4 separate regions of the Homo sapiens genome follow, and all the other regions are linked to region 2. The links are contacts of gene promoters, found by promoter capture Hi-C in blood cells and fetal thymus (Javierre and others, 2016). All regions are on one chromosome and are shown on one strand. Each heading gives the region's core, a stretch centred on a gene start or on the middle of the fragment in contact. The rest is flanking DNA. Distances are from core to core; before and after follow the strand shown. Region 1 has its middle 39 kb from the start of CARMIL1. Region 2 holds the start of SCGN (secretagogin, EF-hand calcium binding protein). Region 3 has its middle 91 kb from the start of CARMIL1. Region 4 has its middle 55 kb from the start of CARMIL1.

Region 1 (2,896 bases), core at 264-2,763, 410 kb after region 2:
TTCATACTAATAAAAAAGTCAAATACATCAGTAAAATGGAGCAATTATAAACGTATATGTGCCTAATTAACAGAGCTTCAAAATGTGTGAAGCAAACATCTGACAGAACTAAAGACAGAAATAGACAAATCCACAATCATTGTTGGAAACTTAAACATACTTCTCAATAATGAACAGAACAACTAAGCAAAAAGTCAGTAACAATGAATGAAAGTAAAAGATCTCCTCTTCTTATACTTTCCTTAGTCTCTTCCTAAACCAAGAAGTTCTTACAAGGTATTGTTTCTGGAGAAGGCCAGAACCATTTGTCTTCTTCTGTGCTTCCAAGGCCATATCCACGTCTGAGATCCTGCAGTAGTTTTATTTTCAGTTGCAAGTAACCAAAAGCTTAATTCAAACTTCCTTATACAATAGAGGGAAATTATTCTTTTAGGTACAGATCAATCAGGGTTAAATTTCTCTTTAATTTTGCCTCTTGTGTGTTGGATTTATTTATTTATTTATTTTTTTAGACAAGTCTTGCTTTGTCACCCAGGCTAGTGTGCAGTGGTGCAGTCGCAGCTCACTGTAACCTCTGCCTCCGGGGATCAAGTGATTCTCCTGCCTCAGCCTCCCAAGTAGCTGAGATTACAGGTGTGCACCACCACGCCCGACTAATTTTTGTATTTTTAGTAGATACAGGGTTTTACCATGTTGACTAGGCTTGTCTCAAACTTCTGACCTCAGGTGATTTGCCTGCCTCAGCCTCCCAAAGTGCTGGGATTACAGGTGTGAGCCACTGGGCCTGCCCAATTTCTTCTTTTTTGTTTGCTTTTTCTTTTTTCTTTTGAGACAAGGTCTTGCTCTGTCACCCAGGCTGGAGTGCAGTGGCATGATCTTGGCTCACTACAACCTCCATCTCCCAGGTTCAGGCAATTCTCATGCCTCAGCCTCCTAAGTAACTGGCACTGCAGGCATACACCAACACGCCTGGCTAATTTTTTTGTATTTTTAGTAGAGATGGGATTTTGCCATGTTGGCCAGTCTGGTCTTGAACTCCTGGCCTTTAGTAATCTCCCTGCCTTGGTCTCCCAAAGTGTTGAGATTAGAGGCATGAGCCACAGTGCCTGGCAATTCTTCAAAAACATTTTTTTGTATTGTAAAGTCAGAGAAAATGTGTTCGATTCATTCTGAGGTGAACATACTATATGGTGGCAAAGTGAGGATAGCAGTTCTCCCTTCACATCCACATCCCACACTACACAGAAAGAAAGAAACATGTGTTCCAGAATTGTCAGCAAAAATCCTGAAATTCGCACTTGACTTAGACCACAGACCCATGACTGATCTAATCACTGCAATGAGGGCAATAAGACTTTCTTGGGCGCAGTACATGTCATTCATTTTATCCCTGAAATAATGGGATAGTTGGGGGTAGAGTAACAATAAATTTCCAATAGAAGTGTAGACTGTTGGGAAAGGTTAAGTGGGACATGGATACCAGAGCGTTAACCAACAGGCGAACAACAGGTGAATAATACTGTGTTTAACATGGTCTCTCTCTGTCTCGCACACACACACACACACACACACACAGAGCAATGAGCAGTAACTAGCCAAACAAATGAAACATTAATCATATACAGCATATGTTAGAGCAATATACTCATATAGAAAACAGGAATTTCATTAAATTACAAAACTGTTGTTTGATAAACTAGCGAGGATAAATAATACATAATATTGTGATAGTTTTTCTTTTATCTTTCCTGTAGAAAGTTATGTATGAAAAAAGAACACTGACTTTCTCTTGTACTTTAAGTCTTTAGCATTTGGGAAATTTCCTATTATTCTCAAGTATAGTCACACTACATCAGATTTCAAGCCAAGACTTAATTTTTTAAAATGTTCTAAGAGGCATGGTGGCTTATGCCTATAATCCTAGCACTTTGGGAGTCCGAGATGGATGGATCACTTGAGGTCAGGAGTTTGAGACCAGCCTGGCCAATATGATGAAACCCCAGCTCTACTAAAAATACAAAAATTAGCCAGGTGTGGTAACACATGCTAATCCCAGCTCCTCAGGAAGCTGACTTGGGAGGATCCCTTGAGCCGGGGAGGGGGTTTTGCAGTGAGCCGAGATTGCGCTACTACACTCCAGCTTGGGCAAAAGAGTAAGACCCTGTCTTAAAAAAGTAAATAAATAAAATAAAATGTTCTAAGAGTGTTTCATGCTCATGACTGCATAAGCATTACTGAACCTGGCATTCTGCTCTTGTCTCCTTCATTGTTAGATTAATGTTCACATAAAAACATTTCCATAATTATACCAATAAAGGGTTAGACACCCTCTGTGAGTATAAAAGGAAAATTAAGACATAAAGAAAATATGTGGTAAAGAGGAAAGGGCCAGGTTGAGCAATGGGTGATAAGTGCAAGATAAAACTCATTGAATATAAAAGTTAGAATTACTGAGCTCGAAAGGATCCCAAGAGGTCATCTGATCCAGTCTGCCTTCTAAGCAACAGCACACTTTAAAATTACTGAAAACTAACAGTTAATTGTATTCTGTGTAGCACTTTTTTTTTTTTGGCTTTTGAAAAATTGATCAAACAGTAGGGATAAAGAAAACCCTAATTAATTCTTAATTCAAAGCTTACTGTATTTTGTGGTTCTAAAATATTTTGAAAAGGTTTTAAAATGTCAAATCCCTGCCAGATAGAAAGCAGATATTCCAAAATAAATATTTTACTGTTTTCTCTGCCAGTGTGATATGAGACAATAATTTATTACCAGGAAAGCTAAGGGAGGCCCTTGGAACCAGCATCAAAGTAATAATCCTGTTTCTCTGAGACTTTTGGCAGACAGTTTGTTCTTTAGTTTTCCTAGAGATTGTTAAGCACACAATTCAACCAAA
Region 2 (2,936 bases), core at 399-2,898:
TGCTATCAGAGGAGTATCATACATATTAAACACCCAAAATCTTAATGTGCTTAACATCTTTTCCAGCTTTTTGAACAAAGTGGGCTACTTTACCCCCAGGTATAAATCAATTAGCAGAGACATAACCAAGGAGACGTTCAAGACCAAGTTAACTGAGTCTACAGTTAGGATCTCTGAGTGGATGACAGATGTTACACTGAAAGTCAGTAACCAGCATGTCTAATGCTACAGTTGCACCTTTTATAAAAACTGCCTAAATCCCTCTATGTTGCTAGGAGAGGGGGAGAAATTACATACATGCAAGGAAGAAAGGAGGTGAGTTGGAATTAATAGGTACCAATCAATATAAGACTTGGATGTGCGTATCTTACTAAGAGGCATAAATTAAGGCTTAGTGTGCAAGTACTTACATCAGTACCCAGTTTCATCAACATGTGGAGAAAGAAAGCATCGAGTTCCTTCTCTTCTATGTAACCTTTTTCTAAATGTGAGAAAATAAACATAAATAATACTAACATATAAAAAACACATGACAGTATTTATCTAAATATGTTTTTAATCTCACAATTCATAAAGCTTCCCTCAACACTATTTTTTGTTATTCCAATAACAAAGTGCCAACACCTACCTCTAGAATACATGGGTTTGAACAGTAAACACTGTTCCAGAATACGTGCTTTATGCTAGGGTTTATATTAGTGCTTGGAAAAGGAAGGCTATTAAGTACATGAATTTTAATCAATGAATAAACGTGAACTTTCCAATAAAATTTAACCCCAAAATTTCTGAAGCTTGGAGAAACTTAACAGGTGTAAGTATTGAATCCCAGTTTGCAGAGTTAAAACACACCTTTTAGATATTTTATTTCTTTATTAATAAAAACAAATATTAAGTAGTTCCATTTTATTTTCAAGTAGTTTTTTGGTGGAGGAGTCGTTTTGAAAGCTGATAAAATTTATTCTCATTTTGAGAGAGTGAGGGGTGTACAGCAAAGTCACTGCGTAAAAGTGAGCCCATTTAGGGAAGGATGACTTCAAATAGCTGAGTCTCAGCCCACAAGCCTTGAACATATACAATGATATTAGTCATTGTATATACAATATATATGTATGTCTACCATATATATGGCGCGCTCGCACACAAAGAGAGATTGGAAAGGGGAAAGTGGAAATTCACCACCCAGAATTTTAACAAGGTATATAGATGTGTATCACCAGTATGCCAAACGTCTGTTAATGATACTGTATTAGGTACACTGCATTAACAACCCAGGTCGATAACTTTTCCTACAGTAAAGGGGAAACTCCAGGTCCTTTCAGCGGGCTGAGCTTGGAGCCACGTCTACACCTGAGTGTGCAAGTGGCTTGTTCTACTCACCATCCGCATCAAAGCGCTGCCAGACCTGCCAGAAGCCAGCGGCGTCCAAGCGCCCCAGAGTCGGTTCCCGGGAGCTGTCCATGGTGTTGACGACGAAGACCAGGCACCGGCGCGGAAGGACCTAGACAACTTTGGGAAGGACTCCTTCACCGTATTTCTTGACTTGCTCTCCTGCTTCTTTCGCTATCTGATTAGCTTTGAGTAACTGTTGCTGGGGAGGACGCGAGCGCTGCTGGCCGTGGCGTCGCTGAGCCGTCCCTCAGCCCTCAGCAAAACCAGCGGCTGGAAGCCCGCCCCGCTCCTGGCGCGCCTGTCCCCGCCCCGCCCTGCGCGCTGTCCTGGCAGATCCTGTCTGTCTCTGCGCTTTGGGGAATTCAGGAAGAAAGAAACTGTCTCCAGGCGTCCACGGCTCACTGCTTTTGCCCTTTAACTTGCTTCTCAGACTCGGAGAAGACATCCCTCTTACGTTTGACTCACTTTCCAAACTTGTGTCTCAAGGGGTTTTCTAGGGAGAGCTGCCTCATTTAAAGGGTTGCAAGAAGTGTCAGTGTTAGGGTCCTTTGGACTTGAGGATTTAGAAATGTAGTGTGTGGAGAGGGGAGGCGAGAAGGGATGGTGATGGTGGTAAGTGGTTCCCTTTAAGGAAGAAGTCAACAGCAATTATTGAGTCCTGATTGTATAGGACATACACATTGCTGTACCAAAATGCACTATAAGGACTTGCAACTAAACAGGGATACTGCAAGTCACTGTGATTTAAAGTAGCATCATTAGGATGCTGAGGAAAATATAAACTAAGCCGTACTCTGCCAGGAAAAGAGAGTCTGGGGGAGATGTGTCTGCCTGCAGGGTACTTAGGTAGAAGGCTTAGATGATTGTGTTTGGCTCCTAAGAGCCACATTAAGACCAAAGGATAAAAATCAGTTGGAGGAACACAGAGCTTTCTAACAATCAGGACTGTTCAAAATTGGGCAAGGCTTTGTGGAAACGTGTACAAACTACACTGATACCTTTTGACTATATATTTAGAAATTTTCGTTGGATAATCTATAGAAAGTGCTTGGATATTAGATAAGAAAGTTGAACCAGATGTAACTTTTCTTTATGGCACCCTGACTCTGGTTTTAGCATTCAGATTTATTTATAAAAAGCATGCATGTATAAGTCATCTAAACCAGAGTAGTGAAAAGAACATGACACTCAAGGTCAGATAGTCCTGGGTCAGGATCTGAGTTCCATTATTTACCAGCTTTGTGAACTGCACCATTAGTTCTCATCTCCCTAAGCCTCAATTTTCTTATCTATAAAATGAGGATTAAAACATCTGTTTTGGAGGGTTGCTGTGAGGATCAGAACCATACATAGTAATGCACAATGAATTATATCTGCTATGGTGTTGTAGCTGATGAGGGATGACTCTGTTAGAGAAAACAAGTAAAGTCTAAGAGATTGTCATAGCCAAGAGGAACCTAATGAAAAATGACAAAGAAATGTAATGTTTTATCCTGGGTGTGATGCCGGAACAGAAAAAGGCCATTAGGTAAAAATTAAGAAAATTT
Region 3 (3,055 bases), core at 437-2,936, 460 kb after region 2:
ACAATATTTTAGGAAATTTATAAAAATACGGGAGATCTTAAAGGTTTAAATATACATCTTAGAAGGAATGACATTCACTGAACTTTTTTTTTCCTAGAGGCCAGGGTAGAAAGCAGGCAATGTAATGAATAATCAATATTTATTAAATGCCCTCTTTGTTTTTGTGACCTCTATCTTCAAATAGGTTACCCCAGCCAGAAGGTTATTTATTCATTCAGTTTAGCTGAGATGGGTGGCAATATAGTATGATAATAAGGGTTTTGCATTCTATTTACTGCAAACCACATAGAAAGCATTCGTAGGGCAACTACTATGTTTGTAGTAAGGTGCTGTAGGGAAGATTATGGTCATAACAACCATTCCTTCAACAAATACTTAAAGTGTGCCTACTAGAAGCCAGCCATCATTGTAAGCACTGTGGATACAGAGGTAAATGTGGCAAAATTCCTTCTCATGTGGAGCTTATGATATACAATGGGACAGCACGGTGCAGTGGCTCATGCCTGTAATCCCAGTACTTTGGGAGGCTGAGGCGGGTGGATCACCTGAGGTTGGGAGTTCAAGATCAGCCTGGGCCAACATAGTGAAACCCCGTCTCTATTAAAAATGCAAAAATTAGCTGGGTGTGTTGGCGTACGTCTGTAATCCTGGTTACTTGGGAGACTGAGGCAAGAGAATCACTTGAACCTGGGAGGCAGAGGCTGCGTTGAGTCGAAGTCATGCCATTGCACTCCAGCCTGGGCAACAAGAGTGAGACTTTGTCTCAAAAAAAAAAAAAATACAGTGGGACAGAGAGATAATACACCCACCTACCACGCACACAATATAATGTCAGATACTGGTTTAAAAAAAAAAAACTGAAGAAAAAACAGAGTATATGGATATAGGGCTGTTATTATCACATACTTAAGCTTATCATGTAGCAAGTGCAGTACTTAGAAGCTTTATATCCATAACCTCATTTAAACCCCACAACCTACATAGAGTAGGAGTCATTATTTCTCTGTTGCAGATGTGGAAAAGAGGCTTTAAGAGGTGAAGTTCATATATCAAGTAAATGGAAGAGGTGTTGTATTTAAGAGCCTCTCCCCCTCTCTTCCCCCAATTCCCTCTAGGTCTCTCTCCTTTTCTCTCTCTCTCCCTCTTCTCCCTCTCAATTTCAAAACTTAAGGTATTATTCAGTATGATGGAGGCACAGTAGAAAGATGGAAGGTCATGTTAATACATAAAGAATGACCTCATTCTCAGTAACAATGGTCTTGTTATATAATCTGTCTGTCTCACTTTCCTCTTCTGCAGGATAATACCCACTACATAAAGTTTTAGGATGACATGAGAAAATATGTATAAATCAGAAGGAACATACCTCTTATCAAAAGTCCTCAGTACGTATTATATTGCTAAATATAATTGATGGGCATGTGGTGAAGAGACTGATAAATAATTGGGAGTTGGGGTACTTTCTAAGAGGTGCAGGTGGGACCTGATACACAAAGCATAAGTATATGGAGTAGATTGGGAGGGGCCTCAGTGTTTGGAGAAGGATTAGGAGGACATCAAAGCAAACCTTTGGTAGACTGTGTGAAGAAAGATAGCACCTTGATATTCAATAAAACTGTTTTCCAAAGTCAACAGCCATGAGTATTGTAGGTTGCTTTTTGGATCAATGAGAAGAATCTCAACTGTTGCTTCAATAGTGGTTCCTCAAATTGCCTGACAATCAAACTTATCTGGGAAACTTCTTACAAAGACACATTCAAAGTTCTGTGTCCTCCAAGGTGGAAATTTCCATGGTAGTATAAAAGGAACAAAACCATTTGTTCACTGCTATAACCCCAAAACCTAGAGCAGTACCTGGCATGTGTAGGATATTCAACTAGTGCTTGTTGACTGAATCTCCTTTATTTTTTCCTCCTTCCTATCTTCCTTTTGTTTTCCCCAAACACATAGGACATTCCCCTAACACATGTGAAATGCTCTGTGACTCTGTCCTGCATCTTCCCAGGGGTGGATTATGTGTGGAGAAAAATGTCACTTTGTCTTTGATGGGATTTAAGGGGGCATGGTCATGCCTGCTTGCTCCAAACTCTTCCTCACTCTGTTTGCTAGCATACCAGCAATGTCCACACGGCAGCTATTCCGTGTTGAGATCATGCATTTCCTGAAAACCCCTACTGCTACTACATAACGCATTGCACTGAGAAGGAGAGTGACTGGGTGAAATCACTTTAACTCTCAGCTTCTCACTCATTTGCGCTGGTTAGGCTATGAGAAGGCTTGCTGCCACTTTGAGTAGCAGAGGGGCCAGGTCCTGAAGGAATGAGACAGGGCAGTATTGATGGGAAAGAGCAGGAAGGAAAAGTCCCAGGGCTTAGGGGTGGCAAGCTAGGAGGAGTACCCAGAAAGATGGCTGGTGTGGAGGAAGCTTTTGGGGGATGGTGGCATTTGATGAGCATGGGAGGTGTTCCCACTTAAGAGAGACTTTTCCTGAGCAACACTTTGAGTCAGGTTGGTAGGGTGTTATTAATGGCTCCAAGTGCTTGGTACATAGTTGACTCACCTGCTGAAACACTTGCTGAGTTAGCGGTTCAATTTCACAGATGTTTTTAAGTCTTGGGTATGCAGAGACTGACCTCTGTGTGACTGTCACAGAGCCTGACATTCCCAGAAGACAGATTCACAAGTTTTCACCCTTTCTAGCACTATGTGAGCTCTGATGATTGTTTCCTCACGTTAATTTAGTGGTTCTTCCCCTGACCTTGGGCATTCTCCCACACACATGCACTGATCAGCACTTAGCTGAATGTTTGAGGGGGACCTTCTGTAGGTCTTCAAGTTTTCCCAGGGCAGCTCTCATGTCTTTGGTGCTCTGCCCTAGGCACTCTAGCCACCTTACTCTCCAGACTCTCAGCTGTCTCCTCAGTTCCAGGATACCTCCACAAAGGTGCCTCTTCCCTGCCCTGTGACCTGAAAAAACTTCCTCCAAATAGTATACTGGGGCAATCATTGGCTCACATCATTTATTTCCTGTTTCTTGGAGATCACCATTCTTCAT
Region 4 (2,821 bases), core at 291-2,790, 430 kb after region 2:
TCAGCCTTTGGGTTGCTGGGACCACAGATGCACACCACCATGCCTAGCTAATTTCTTGTATTTTTAGTGGAGACAAGATTTCGCTATTTTGCCCAGGCTGGTCTTGAACTCCTGGGCTCAAGCAATTCTTCTGCCTCAGCTCCCTAAAGTGCTAGGATTGCTGGTGTGAGCCACCATACCCAGCTTGTTTCTTTTATTCTCAGAATATTCTTAATATTCTCAAGAACATTCTTGGCCTCCCTTCCCTGCCATTTATAATGTTTCCTCCCTTGGTTTCTTTATTTTCCTTCATTCACACTCTGATTGCACCATTCAGTTTGACTCAATTGTAGTCAAATTCAACTCACAGGCTTGTTAACCCTAGTTTGGTGAACATCATAAGTCTTTCAGATGCTGGTTGGAAATGCACCTCCTCAATCCCTAACACTGACATTTAAGCAGCAGAAAGAAGAGGAGCAGCCCATGGTGAAGGCAACTGGAAAGGTCAGAGACCCAAGGAGAGATAAGATGAAAGTTATCAGTGGTGCCTAATGAAGAAGAACTGTTCTGTGAGACAAGGACTGAGAATGTTCCTCATGAGGACATCATTGATGACCTTGGTGAGAACAGTCAGCAGAAGTTTGAGAAATTATTGGGAGGTGCTGAAGCTGCCACAAGTACAGACCAAGCTTCTGAGAGAGTTGGATGATGACAGAAGGAGAAAGTGAAAAAGGGCTCAGGGTAGAGAGGCTTTTGTTTAGGATGGGAGAAGCTAGAGCAAGCCAATGTCAGCTGGGGCCTCCCTGGCTCTGTGAGATGTTGGTCCATCTTTGTAAACCTGGTCCAAAGCCACAGTCCAAGATTCCTTTTATGATTTCCCTAAATTTCTGAGGCTTGCTCCCTCATGCTTCTCTTTGTGTCCCCTGCCACATCTGTACCTGTGGTTTCAGATCCATCTTGTGGCACCACAGTGCGAATCTCAGCCTTCTCGCCAGTTTCTACACAAACACTCATGTTAATGGTAATCTATTGAGTTAACAATTTAACAAGGAACTTTAAGGTAGTTTGGAGGTGCTCCTGGAGAGGGGTTATACGCCCAACCACACTGCCCTCTGCCATCCTGCTGGCTCCTCCTCCGTTTTTCCCAACTTCCTCCTCCTTTAGAGCAAGGAATTACTTTTCTTGTCTAGAACTGAGTGATCAACCCAGAGTCAAGGTCTCGCCTTCAACCTCAATGGGCTTATCCATGAATTTTTCTAAGAAATCTCCAAAAGGAATTTTCATGCCATTTGCTAAGAGAATTCGATTCTCCTCTAATATGTCCTCTTGTCATATTAGCATTCGGGGGTGGGGGCGGGGCAAACAGTTTATGTAGACACAGAAATTGATGCATGTGGTGAAATGCTGGGAGACACCTGGAGGGGAGAGGAGGGCAGCTGTTCTATTTCTTGTGATTGGTGGGACAGGAAGCAAGAATGAGTGAAAATGAAGATAAACCTGTATGGGGGCAGGATGTGTATGGGGGTGGGATGGAAGAGTGAAGATTTGAGGGTTTGTGGGCTCAGTAGTCTCTGTGGGGGCAAGATCACTTGCTGACAGGGGATGGACAGAACTGAAGGTATGAGATTCTCGCTATAGAGAGGAGTGAGGGAAGGAGAAGGGATGAGGGGAGAGATGCTGTTTTTAGATAAGGAGAAGTATTGACAAGATGAATGGAGTATTCTTCTGAAATCGGAAAGTATACCTTTGTGAAGATACCAGTTCCCACGGTTGTACTTCTCTCTAGAAGCCCCAAATCACTAAGATATAGAAGCAGAGAAGGGGGATTTCAGGATTAATCTGGGGTTGGAGCTTGCAGAGCAGGACAGTGTGAGTTCTAGTGCTTTATTCTGAAGTCCTGGTGAAAAAGGGAAAATTGAGTAGGAAGAAGCCTGCCCATTAGCACTGGGTTGACATTCAGCTCCACTCTGGACCATGTTACCTTGGTGATAATGAAAGTGGAAGGAGGGATGCTTTTCTGCCAATTTTATCTAAGCGTCTTGGGCAGTTTTAATTTAAACGTATGATACTACCTCCATTTTTTCCTGGTATGATTCCTTTCATTTAATTAGGCTCTATTGGTGGAAAGTAGTTGATCTTTGATGACGTTGTTATCTCCTGAACATTATTATATCTCCCGCTCTGGTTTACAGGTTTTTCCTGACTCTTCTCTTCTGCATTACAGCTCAGGACTGCCACCCAGTGGCCTGTTAGCATAGAGCTCTGGAAATGCTGATTTTTTTCTTTAATACAGCCACAGAATAAGACAATAAGAAAATATTTGCTTCCTTGTTGGGGAAAGTAAAATGCAGAACTTCCTATTTACCAGCCAAACAAAAGAAGAATGCATTCTCTCAGGACCTCAGGGACTGTCAGAAAATAAGAAAAGCTTTTTTGACCTTAGTAACCTTTGACATGGTTCTCTGAGACCAAGTGTGTTTAGCCAGGAATTTATACTAAACAGGGAATGGAATGAAAGCAGGATCAGGATTTTGAAGAAAAATACCTCTCAAATTGGGGAGAGTTAGGCAAAGAGATTCTGAATGTAAAGTCATTTGGGGAAGACATAGGCCCTTGGATAAAGCATACTTTTTTTGTTTTCCTATTTTACTTTCTTCCTCACCCTTTAACACATGGAAGATGGGTCCCTGTGTCCTCCAGGTCTGATAGGAGTTGTCAGACTGCCGTTGTTTGAGTTACTTTATTTATTTGGAATTTCTGGATGTGAGAAGCTATGGAAGCCAAGTTCAGATTCAGCCATTCTAATTCTCTTATAAGATATCCTCTGTGAAACAGTGGTGTA

The links. Contacts are between HindIII fragments. The CHiCAGO score rates a contact against its expected background, and 5 or more counts as called.
Region 1: a fragment that was not itself captured here is called in contact with the fragment with the promoter of SCGN in region 2 in 9 of 17 cell types (megakaryocytes, naive B cells, M0 macrophages and 6 more); the score reaches 9.5 in megakaryocytes.
Region 3: a contact is called between a fragment that was not itself captured here and the fragment with the promoter of SCGN in region 2, in 1 of 17 cell types (naive CD4 T cells). The highest score is 5.1, in naive CD4 T cells.
Region 4: a fragment that was not itself captured here is called in contact with the fragment with the promoter of SCGN in region 2 in 5 of 17 cell types (erythroblasts, M2 macrophages, megakaryocytes and 2 more); the score reaches 7.3 in erythroblasts.

Annotation. Positions count from the first base shown.
Region 1 is chr6:25,239,163-25,242,058 of GRCh38, reverse strand. No RefSeq gene overlaps it. Among named protein-coding and RNA genes, the nearest start is that of CARMIL1, 39 kb to the left of the region's middle. The HindIII fragment of the contact is 2,247 bases long and covers 390-2,636 here.
Region 2 is chr6:25,650,927-25,653,862 of GRCh38, reverse strand. SCGN (secretagogin, EF-hand calcium binding protein) reads right to left here and starts at 1,648. Exons shown (of 11, transcript NM_006998.4): 1 at 1,378-1,648; 2 at 411-481. The coding sequence starts at 1,459. The HindIII fragment of the contact is 2,826 bases long and covers 794-2,936 here.
Region 3 is chr6:25,186,616-25,189,670 of GRCh38, reverse strand. No RefSeq gene overlaps it. Among named protein-coding and RNA genes, the nearest start is that of CARMIL1, 91 kb to the left of the region's middle. The HindIII fragment of the contact is 1,483 bases long and covers 945-2,427 here.
Region 4 is chr6:25,223,053-25,225,873 of GRCh38, reverse strand. No RefSeq gene overlaps it. Among named protein-coding and RNA genes, the nearest start is that of CARMIL1, 55 kb to the left of the region's middle. The HindIII fragment of the contact is 1,739 bases long and covers 671-2,409 here.